Linked DNA regions of Homo sapiens: region 2 is linked to region 1. Evidence: promoter capture Hi-C in human tissues and cell types (Jung and others, 2019). All regions are on one chromosome and are shown on one strand. Each heading gives the region's core, a stretch centred on a gene start or on the middle of the fragment in contact. The rest is flanking DNA. Distances are from core to core; before and after follow the strand shown. Region 1 holds the start of ONECUT3 (one cut homeobox 3). Region 2 holds the start of ADAMTSL5 (ADAMTS like 5).

Region 1 (4,575 bases), core at 617-3,116:
TCTGCTGCTGAGCTGCAGGCGCCCGCCGCAACGTCTCGGAGCTCTGTGGCCCGGGGCTGGGGGCTCAACAGCCCCTCTCCACCCACTCTGGAGGAGGGGAGTGGCACCTTAGCCGACAACAGCAGCTCGTTCGGGGACACAGCTCCCCCCAACAGGCGCGCGCTCACACACACACACGCACACACACAATGAGCTTCCCTGAGGGCTGCTTGGGGAGAGGCTCGGAGCCTCCCAGCAGTCTAACAAGGACTAGAGAACCCCTACGCGCTCCCGAAAGGGGCAGAAGCGGCGACCGGGGGGCGGGGAGGCGGCACAATCCCTTTCTCCCTTTTGGCAACGGTACAAACGGGCAGCGGCGCGGATCGCGGTCTAGCTTCCTGATAGGGGGTCCCGGGCTGCCGGGGCGCACGGGCGGGGCTTGGGGCGCTGGCCCCGGGCATCGGCCGCCGCCCCGCTAGGTGCTCGGGAGTCCAGAGCCGGCGCCCCCAGGGTCTGGCCCTGCGCGCCACGCTCCTACCTGCCAAGCGCAGCGCCGACATGCGCTGGAACTCTGGCTCCTGCAGCCACTTCCACATCCTGCGGAAGGTCTCGCGGCCGGATTTGAGCTTGCTCCACGGCTTGGGGTTGCGCAGCAGGTCGGAGAGCGTGCCCTGAGAGCGACACAGGATCCGCTGCGCGAAGATTGCCTGCGGGATGCTGTAGCGCTTCAGCTCCGCCGTGATGCGCTGCGCCACCTCCTTGGTGTTGATCTCCTCGGCCGCTGCGCCCGCGCTGGGGCCGCCGCCGCTCCCGCCGGGGCCGCCGCCTCCCCCGTGCGGCCCGTGCGCCCCGGCCGCCGCCAGCCCGCCCAGCGGCGCCAGCAGCCCCGCGGCGCTCCCGCTGCCCGCTCCGCCGCTGCCTGTGCCGCCGCCGCCTCCGGGCAGCCCGCGGGCCAGTGCGTCCTCCGCGCGTCCCAGCAGCGCGGCGTGCGGCTCGAAGGCGGCGGGCGGCAGCAGCTTGTCCCCAGCCAGGTGGCCTGGCGGGCCGTAGGCGGCCAGCGGCGGGGGTGGTGGCGGCGGCGGGGGCTGCGGGGCGCCGTGCAGCGCGGGCGGCAGCGCGTTGGGCAGCGGCGACAGCGGCGACCCCATGGCGGGCAGCTCCTTGCCGTAGGGTCCGTAGAGGTGGCCCACGGAGGCGAGCGCCGCCCGCTCGTCGCGCATGAGGGTGAAGCTGCCGCTCACGCTGGCCGCCAGACGCTGCGGCGGGGGTGGCGGGGGCGGCGCGGCCGCCGGGTGCGGGTGCGCGTGGGGATGGCCGCCGTGCGCCCCGGCCACGGCCGCGGCCGCCGCGTGCTGGTGGAACTTGTCGGCCACGGCCGCGAGCGGCGGCAGGTGCTGCAGGGGCGTGAGCGTCGTGTAGGTGCCGCCCAGGCCCGGCGCCTCGCAGGCCATGCCCATTGCCGGGTGCAGCGGGCCCGCCAGTTCCCCGCGGAAGTCCGCGCCGCCGCCCGCGCTGCCCGCGCCGCCCGCGCCCCCGGCGCCCCCACCGCCGCCGCCGCCGCCGCCGTCCAGCAGGCTCGCCATGCCGGCCACCAGGCCCGGGCGCCCGGGCGCCACCAGGCCGCGGTGCTGCGCCGCCGCCGAGCGCGCGTGGCCCGGGCTCAGCAGCTCGCCCGCCTGCGCGTGGGCCACGCTGTGCAGGCCCCCCAGGCTCTCCAGGCTCAGCTCCATGCTCGGCTGCCCTCCCGCCGCGCGCGCTCCTCAGCGCCGGCCCCTAGTGCTCAAGGCCGCTGCATGACTCCCGCCCGCTCCCCGGTGGCTGCGCGCGAGGCTGCCAGGCTGCGCGGCGCACGGCCCGGCCCGGCTGCGAGCGCGGCCACCAGGATGTGGCAGGGGAGCGGCCGCCGGCGCCCGGGCCCGGGTCTGACGTCAGCGCCCCCGCCCACCCGCTCCTGCCACCGCTGCCTCCCGCAGCCTCGCTCTCCGCCCGCCCCGGCCCCACTCGAGCACCAAGCAGGCCGAAGTCGGCCAGACTTGGGGCTTCGGCGTCCCTGGCCACTGCGCCCGCCCGCGCCCGCTGGGGCAGGCCGTACCCGGGGGACAGCGGGCGGGGGTCCGAGGACAGACTCTGCCCAGGTGGGGCTGGGGGCCTCGACCCAGAGTCTCCGATTTCGCGTCTCTGTGTGATTCTCTCCAGAGTCCCAGATGTGGCTTTCTGCCTGGCACCCCCAAGTCCATCTCCAGGGAGTTTCTGGGAGTGTGGCTGGACGGTCGCCTGTAATGTACGTGTCCCCCCCCCCCCCCGTTCCCTACAGACCCCCAGGAGCTAGATCCCCACTGCAAGCTCAGCTTCCCCCGACTCCCACTCACACCTACGGAGTCACAGCCCCCTTCCCACAACCTCTTTGTGGAGGAAGTGGGGGAAAAGGGAGGTCCTAAGGCTAGGTCAGGGCCTCCGTGCGCCCCAGGGGTCAGCCTCTGCCCATGTGTGGGCACCTGGGCCTCCGTTTCCCCAACTGTACAATGGGCTGCCCGGCCTCGGGGTTGCCAAAGGCCCCTTCTAATTGCAGGGCCTTTTTACAGTGCGGCCGCTGGAGGCACTGGAGCCTGGGGGTGACCACTAAGAGCCCCTGTCACCCTCCAGCCCACGGAGGCTGAGGCTGGATCCCCTGTCTTCTGAGACGTCGCTGGTGCAAACTCCTCTTTGTCCCTGGGGCTTCTCTTCAATGTGGGGGGAGGCAGGGGTCTCCTTTTTCTCAGCACCTGGAGACAGGTGAGCCCCAGGGGCCCCTGGGAACTGGGATAGATGGGGGAAGGGCTCCTATAATCAGAGAGACCCCCAGGGGACTAGATCCCGCCAGTGGGGTAAGGTCAGGGCTGCGGATCTGGAGGGGCCAGACCAGAATCTAGAGGATGCTCTGTCTTGTAGGCCAGAGGCTACGGTGCAGAGTCCAAAACCAGCCTCAGCCCCTTCCTGCTTCCCCGTTGCCTCTGCCCCCCCCACCCCCGGGGTAACGCTTGTGCACTTTCTAGAAGAGGAAGGGGATGGGTCAGGCAGTCGGTTCGCGGGAGCCCCCAGTTACCCCCATCTCAGAGGGTTGCATCAGGGCTCAAAGCTGAAGGAAGAGGGGAGGACACAGTCAGGCTGTCACTTCCCCTTTGGTGCAAACCTTCTGGGCAAACCCCGGCCCCAGCTTTGCACCTGCATCCAGATTTCCTGGCCCCTGTAGACGTGGCTACACATTGGAGATGCGATTTTCTGAACCAAGACTAGGTTGGCTCTGGAATAGGGCCCTTTCTGTGCCTCAGTTTCCCCTTCTCTGGTGTGGGAGGGGGTGCCCTCCAGCCTGCCCAGCTGGGAGCCGGAGGTGAGTCTATGCTGACCACAACAGCCAGAGAGAGAGGGGGCCTGAATGATCTGGGCCCCCAGCCTGAGGTGGCCTGATCCAAGTCCTGGGGAGGGATAGGGCTGAAGGGGACCCCTGTTAGTACTCGCTGCTTAGGGCTCGGCATTTAGTAAGTGCCTGTTATTTACCAGGCATACTCTCCTCTCTCAGCCCCAGAGAGGGGGAAGTCAAATCACAATTTTTCCGGGTGTCTCTGGCCCAAGGTGGGGGGGTGGTGGCCCTAGAGTTCCCCCCTTCATTCCTACATCTGCCCAAGTGCTAACTCCTGCCCCCTGAAGTGTCGGTCCCTAAACTTTCCAGTTCCAGGGTTCAGGTATAATTTCTGGAGTTTACATAATTACACCCATCTTCCAGGTGGGAAGAGAGGGGCAGGTCCGAACAGTCGCGTACCCCACTCCCCGTGCAGATGCTGAATCTCGGCGGGGGGGATGTGGCTGCACAGAGCCCCAGCCTGCGCTCCTCATTCTCACCCTCCAACAATCACAGATAATTAAAAATAATCGTGAGATCTAAAAATCAATCAGCCGCCATAAAACGCTAGCATCCCAGGCTCAAGAAGCGCAGACCAGGTGGGGGCTGGGGGTCTCTACGGGTGGGAGGATAACAAGGTGGAAGGAAGTTCCCCCAAATGCCAATGTGGGGGAGCTCCTAGGGAGCTGGGATTTTGCAGGCTTCCTTTTAAATATATTTTTTACAGCTTGATGATCGTGTTCATTTTAATAGCAAGCGTGTGTGGCTTTTCTAGCAGGGAAAGCATCCATTTTGAAAGAGAAGACGAGGGTCAGGGACTCCGAGAGGAAGAGGGCCTCTCCCCTCTGCTGCCTCAGGACACGCTAAGGTGGCCACAGACCCCTTCCAAAGCTCCCTAGACTTGGAAGGGGCAGCCCAGCCTGGTGGACCTAACCCTATCCAGGTCTGCGAAGCCCCTCACCCCTCCCTTCGGCTGATGGACACTTGGACTCCCCCAGGGATGGGGATCTCACTCCTTGTAGAGGCTGTGGTCCCGTTGAGAGATTGAACAGAATTTTGCTGGCCCCAAGAGAGGGACTGTGGCCCCCTGGAGCCCCCAGCTTGCTTCTCCCCACCAGCAGCAGCCTTTTAGTAATTAGTAAAATAGAATTGAGCCGGCCACCGGGTAGGCTGGCTGCCCAGGCCCAGATCGATCCTGGGTCATTAGGCAAATTGTGGGC
Region 2 (4,575 bases), core at 1,465-3,964, 240 kb after region 1:
CAGCAGATCGCGGCATTCCTTAAGCCTCAAGGCCATACAACCATGAAGGAAATGGAACCTAATTGATCCACATCCGCCGGGACCCGCGTCTCAGTCTCCCCTCTAGCCCTGACGCTGCCTCAAGGAGGGGGTCCAGGCTGAAATTCAGAGTAGGGGGACTCGGCTGATTCCTGGGTCAGGGTCCAGGCAAGGGCAGGGGAATGTAGTAAGCTGGGACCCCGCCCAACTGGGACCCCAGGAGCCTCTGAGCCTCAGCAGCCACCCCCTCCACCTACACCGGGTGTCTTAGGCTGAGCTCCCAGCCTCCTCCTAGGGACATCCAGAGGACAGAGGTGGGAGACGGTAGGGGACAAGAACTGGGGGTGGGGGGCAGCCCTCCACATCTTCACCACCACCTCTGCCAATCTTGCCAGCTCTAGAGCCCCCACGCAGGGTGCAGTGGCTGCGGTATGCACTCCCAGGAGGGAACAGGGGCTGCGGGGTACACTTTCCATAGAACTCAGTGCCTACTGTATGCGCTCCCTGCAGGAGACAGCGCCTTATGTATACCTTCCTTGCAGGATGCAGCACCTGCTGTATACCTTCCTTGCAGGATGCAGCACCTGCTGTATATACTCTCTACAGGATGCAGTGACTGCTGTATGCACTCCTCTGAAGGTGCCATATCTACTGTATACACTCCTTTGCAGGGCAGAGTCTACTCTATGCATTTCTACAAGATGCAGCACCTGCTGTATACCCTTCCTGCAGAGCATAATGCCTGCTGTGTGTGCTCCCTGTGGGCGCTGTGCTTTCTGTATACCTTCCCTGCGGGGCACAGGGCCTGCTGTCTGCACTCCCAGTGGAGCTCTGTGGACTGGACATCTGGGAATGGGGCACATCTGAGGAGGATACAATTGTCCTAATGACACATTGACACATGTCCTGAGCTGACTTCTTTCTTTCTTTCTTTCCTTTTTTTTTTTTTTTTTTTTTTTTGAGACGGAGTCTCGCCTGTCTCCCAGGCTGGAGTGCAGTGGCGTGATCTCGGCTCACTGCCACCTCTGCCTCCCGGGTTTAAGCGATTCTCGTGCCTCAGTCTTCCGAGTAGCTGGGATTACAGGCACTCACCGCCATGCCTGGCTAAGTTTTATATTTTTAGTAGATACTGGGTTTCACCATGTTGTCCAAGCTGGCTTCAAACTCCTGACCTCAGGTGATCCGCCTGCCTCGGCCTCCCACAGTGCTGGGATTCCAGGCATGAGGCGCCGCGCCCGGCCTGCCCTTCTCTCTTGACCCCTTCAGTGAGGGCCTTCTTGACATCCCCGCAACCACCACCCCCCAACCTGGGGCCATCAGTGGTGGGCCTGGGCTATTTTCTCCAATAGTCCAGGTCAGAAGGTGGGGGGTCATACATTCCAGGGGGCTGCCTTACCCGCTGGCCTGGGACTGGCTGGGTTGTTCACAGCTGTGCACACAGTAGGTGCTCAATAAATGGCATATGGGTGGCTCTGCTGACATGCTACAGGCTGGAGGGCAGACTGAGTTGGACCAGCAACACCCTGTATGTCCCCAGCAAACCTCTCTCCCTGTGGTCAGCGCTGTGGGACAGCAGGGTGGGCTTCCTGGAGGAGGGGGTGCTCAGACCGAGCCTGGGTGGAGCCCAGGGAGCAGGACAGTCCCTCCACCCCCTCCTTTAGTGCCCCAGTCCCTCAGCCCGCCCGCCAGGGGGCGCCGTGGGGCGACACCAGAAACTGGTGGAGCCCAGAACCCAGGGCCTGGTCTCATCCCTGCGTGGGTGGGCACGGGGCGGCTCACAGACGCCCGGCGGGAAAGGGTGGGGTGGGGGGAGTCCCGGGGTGCCCCCTCGCGTTGCCGGTCCGCGCAGAGCCGGATTCCAGATGGAAGGTTCGCGGTGGAGATCCCTGCCGGGCCCACTGCTGGGATGGGGAAACTGAGGCCGGAGAGGGTGTGGCCGCGGCTGTGAGGGAGAGGGACCGCCTGGACCCGGGTCTGGCTCTGAAGCCCCGCTGGCAGCCCCGGGGCCCGGCAGGGAGGGCGGGAGGCGGGGTGGGGCGCGTCCCCTGGTGACAGCAGCGCCCGGGAATGCGCCAGCTGGGAGGGTCTCTCCGCCCCCCGCGCGCGGCCCACGGGGCCGAGCCTCTCCCCAGTGCGCTGGGGCCCTGCGCTGGGGGTGACCGGGACCTGGGTCGGGGAACCCCCGGATGGGAGCCCAGGCGCGCCAGGGTCCCCATCCACGAGCAGGTCGACCCCCCGCGAGAGGGGTGAGGGGCAGGACCAGGGGAGGGGGCTGTGACCGGGGATGGGGACGCCGGTGGGACGCAATCCGGGCGTCGGCGGGGTAGGGGCAGCGCCCGGGACTCCCAGACCCAGGGCGGGGTGACCTCGGTTCGCGCACATTCCCGGGCCCTGAGCGCGGCGCCCGGAATAGCAGCCCCGGGGCAGAGGAGGGCGGTCAGTCCCCGCGCCGCGCCCCCGCCCGAGCCTGCCAAGGTCACCCGGACCCGGGCGCCCGACACCAGCCTGCGGCTCCGGGACCCCTGCGCTCGCGTCCGCCGGGCAGTCCCCTGCCGCAGATCCGCGCCCGCCGCGCGAGGGCGCCCGGGGCCGCCGCCCCTCCTGACCCGGGCCTGGGCGCGCCTGCGGAGGCCGCGGTGGGAGGGACCGTCCCAGGCTCCCCACCCCGCCCAGCACCTTGGGCCCCGCCGCTTCCGCTCGCCCTGGGGCCGCTCAGGGAGCCGGGACGCGCTGCCTGGGCTCCGCGCAGCCGGTAAGTCCATCTGCCTATCCTCCCACTTTCTCCGGGGGAAACTGAGGCCCAGAGGTGCGGCTTGCCTTGAGATCCCTCCGCCAGTCCGGGCTGCAGCCCACACGGGGAGGGGAGAGCCTTGATTCTGGGCAGGGCCCATTGAGGAGGGGGTAGGGTGGTCCTTGTAGCCCCCCACTTTTCACCACCTAGACCCCCACTCCTCAAACCAGGCTTAGAGTCCGGTGGGGGTGGTCAGAAGGTCAAGCCCCCTCCCCCTGTTTTTTTTGGTTGGTTGGTTGTTTTTGAGACTGAGTCTCACTATGTCGCCCAGGCTGGAGTGCATTGGCCCCATCTCGGCTCACTGCAACCTCCGCCTCCTGGGTTCAAGCGATTCTCCTGCCTTAGCCTCCCAAGTAGCTGGGATTACAGGTGTGCACCACCACACCGGGCTAATTTTTGTGTTTTAGTACAGATGGGGTTTTACCATGTTGGTCAGGCTGGTCCCAAACTTCTGACCTCAGGTGATCCGCCTGTCTTGGCCTCCCAAAGTGCTGGGATTACAGGCGTGAGCCACCGCACCTGGCCCCCCTCCCCTTGTTTTAAGTTTCTGGTGCAGACTTCTTCCTGCTTCCTGGGCCAGCCCAGGCTCTAGGCTCAGAGAGGGGCACGGATGCAGCAGACCACACAGCTGTCTCAGTACCTAGAGATACCCAGGACCCTAGACCCTTGGTGCCTCAGAAGTCCAAATGCTGGAGCCAGGGAAACAGGGTCCAGGTGGGACCCAGCCTCTTCCCCAGCTGGTGCCCGGGCCGGGGCTCACCCACCTGCCTTCAGGCTCTGCTGGCAGCAGGACGCCCTGGCTCACTTGGCGGCTGCTTCCCTTCCCCCCTCTTTCCCCCTGCAGGCTGGGGTCATGAGGAGGGTGTGGATGGCAAGTGACTTCATCCCTGCCCTGACAGGATGGAGAAACTAAGGCCCAGAGAGGCAGTCAGCCTCCTCCCCTTCCCTGCTCCAGCCTCAGCAGTGGCCCCTTCCCTCCACGGGCTGCCCCGGAGCTCAGTCCCACCCCCTCCGCCGATGAGGCCATGAGGCACCGAACGGACCTGGGCCAGGTCACCCCCTCCCTGTCCCATCCCCAATCCGGGGGACTCCCTGCTGTCTGGGAGCTGAGGGAGCCCTGGGGCCGGGGTGCAGCTGAGGGCCTCTTCTAGGGACCCAACTCCTGATCCAGCCCCTGCCGGCCGCACCTTCCGCAGGGTGTCACAGAATCATGGACTGAGTCCACTTGGCCCCCACTGCACAGATGGGGAAACTGAGGCCTGGGAGAGTGGAGTGGCTGGCCTCAGGCCACACGGAAAGGTAGAAGCAGTGATGGTGGGGAGGGCGGGGAGGGGGCCCCAGCCCTAGGAGGCACCTGTGTACTATTTTTGAATGATCCCTCCAATCATCAAGCATCGATTAAGCACCTACTGTCTGCATTATAGCACAATACACATATCAATAATATTGTAGGCTGGGTGCAGTGGCTCATGCCTATAATCCTAGCACTTTGGGAGGCCAAAGCAGGTGGATCACTTCAGGTCAGAAGGTTGAGACCAACCTGGCCAAGATGGTGAAACCCTGTCTCCACTAAAACGGCAAAAATTAGTCCGGCGTGGTGGCAGGCACCTGTAATCCTAGCTTCTCGGGATGCTGAGGCAGGAGAATTACTTGAACCGGGGAGGGTTGCAGTGAGCCGAGATCGCACCCCTGCACTCCAGCCTGGGCGACAGAGCGAGACTCCGTCTCAAAAACAAACTAACTAACAACAATAATAATTGCAGATG

The links. The method cuts DNA at HindIII sites, captures the fragments that hold promoters and counts their contacts. A contact is called where the count stands out against the background at its distance.
Region 2: a contact is called between the fragment with the promoter of ADAMTSL5 here and the fragment with the promoter of ONECUT3 in region 1, in 2 of the 25 tissues and cell types used here (heart right ventricle and lymphoblastoid cells).

The regions. Positions count from the first base shown.
Region 1 is chr19:1,750,797-1,755,371 of GRCh38, reverse strand. It overlaps ONECUT3 (one cut homeobox 3), which reads right to left and starts at 1,866. Exons shown (of 2, transcript NM_001080488.2): 1 at 518-1,866. The coding sequence starts at 1,709. The HindIII fragment of the contact is 24,245 bases long and covers 1-4,575 here.
Region 2 is chr19:1,511,158-1,515,732 of GRCh38, reverse strand. ADAMTSL5 (ADAMTS like 5) reads left to right here and starts at 2,714. Exons shown (of 12, transcript NM_213604.3): 1 at 2,714-2,770; 2 at 4,573-4,575. RefSeq lists silencers at 1,601-1,680, 2,520-2,889. The HindIII fragment of the contact is 17,964 bases long and covers 1-4,575 here.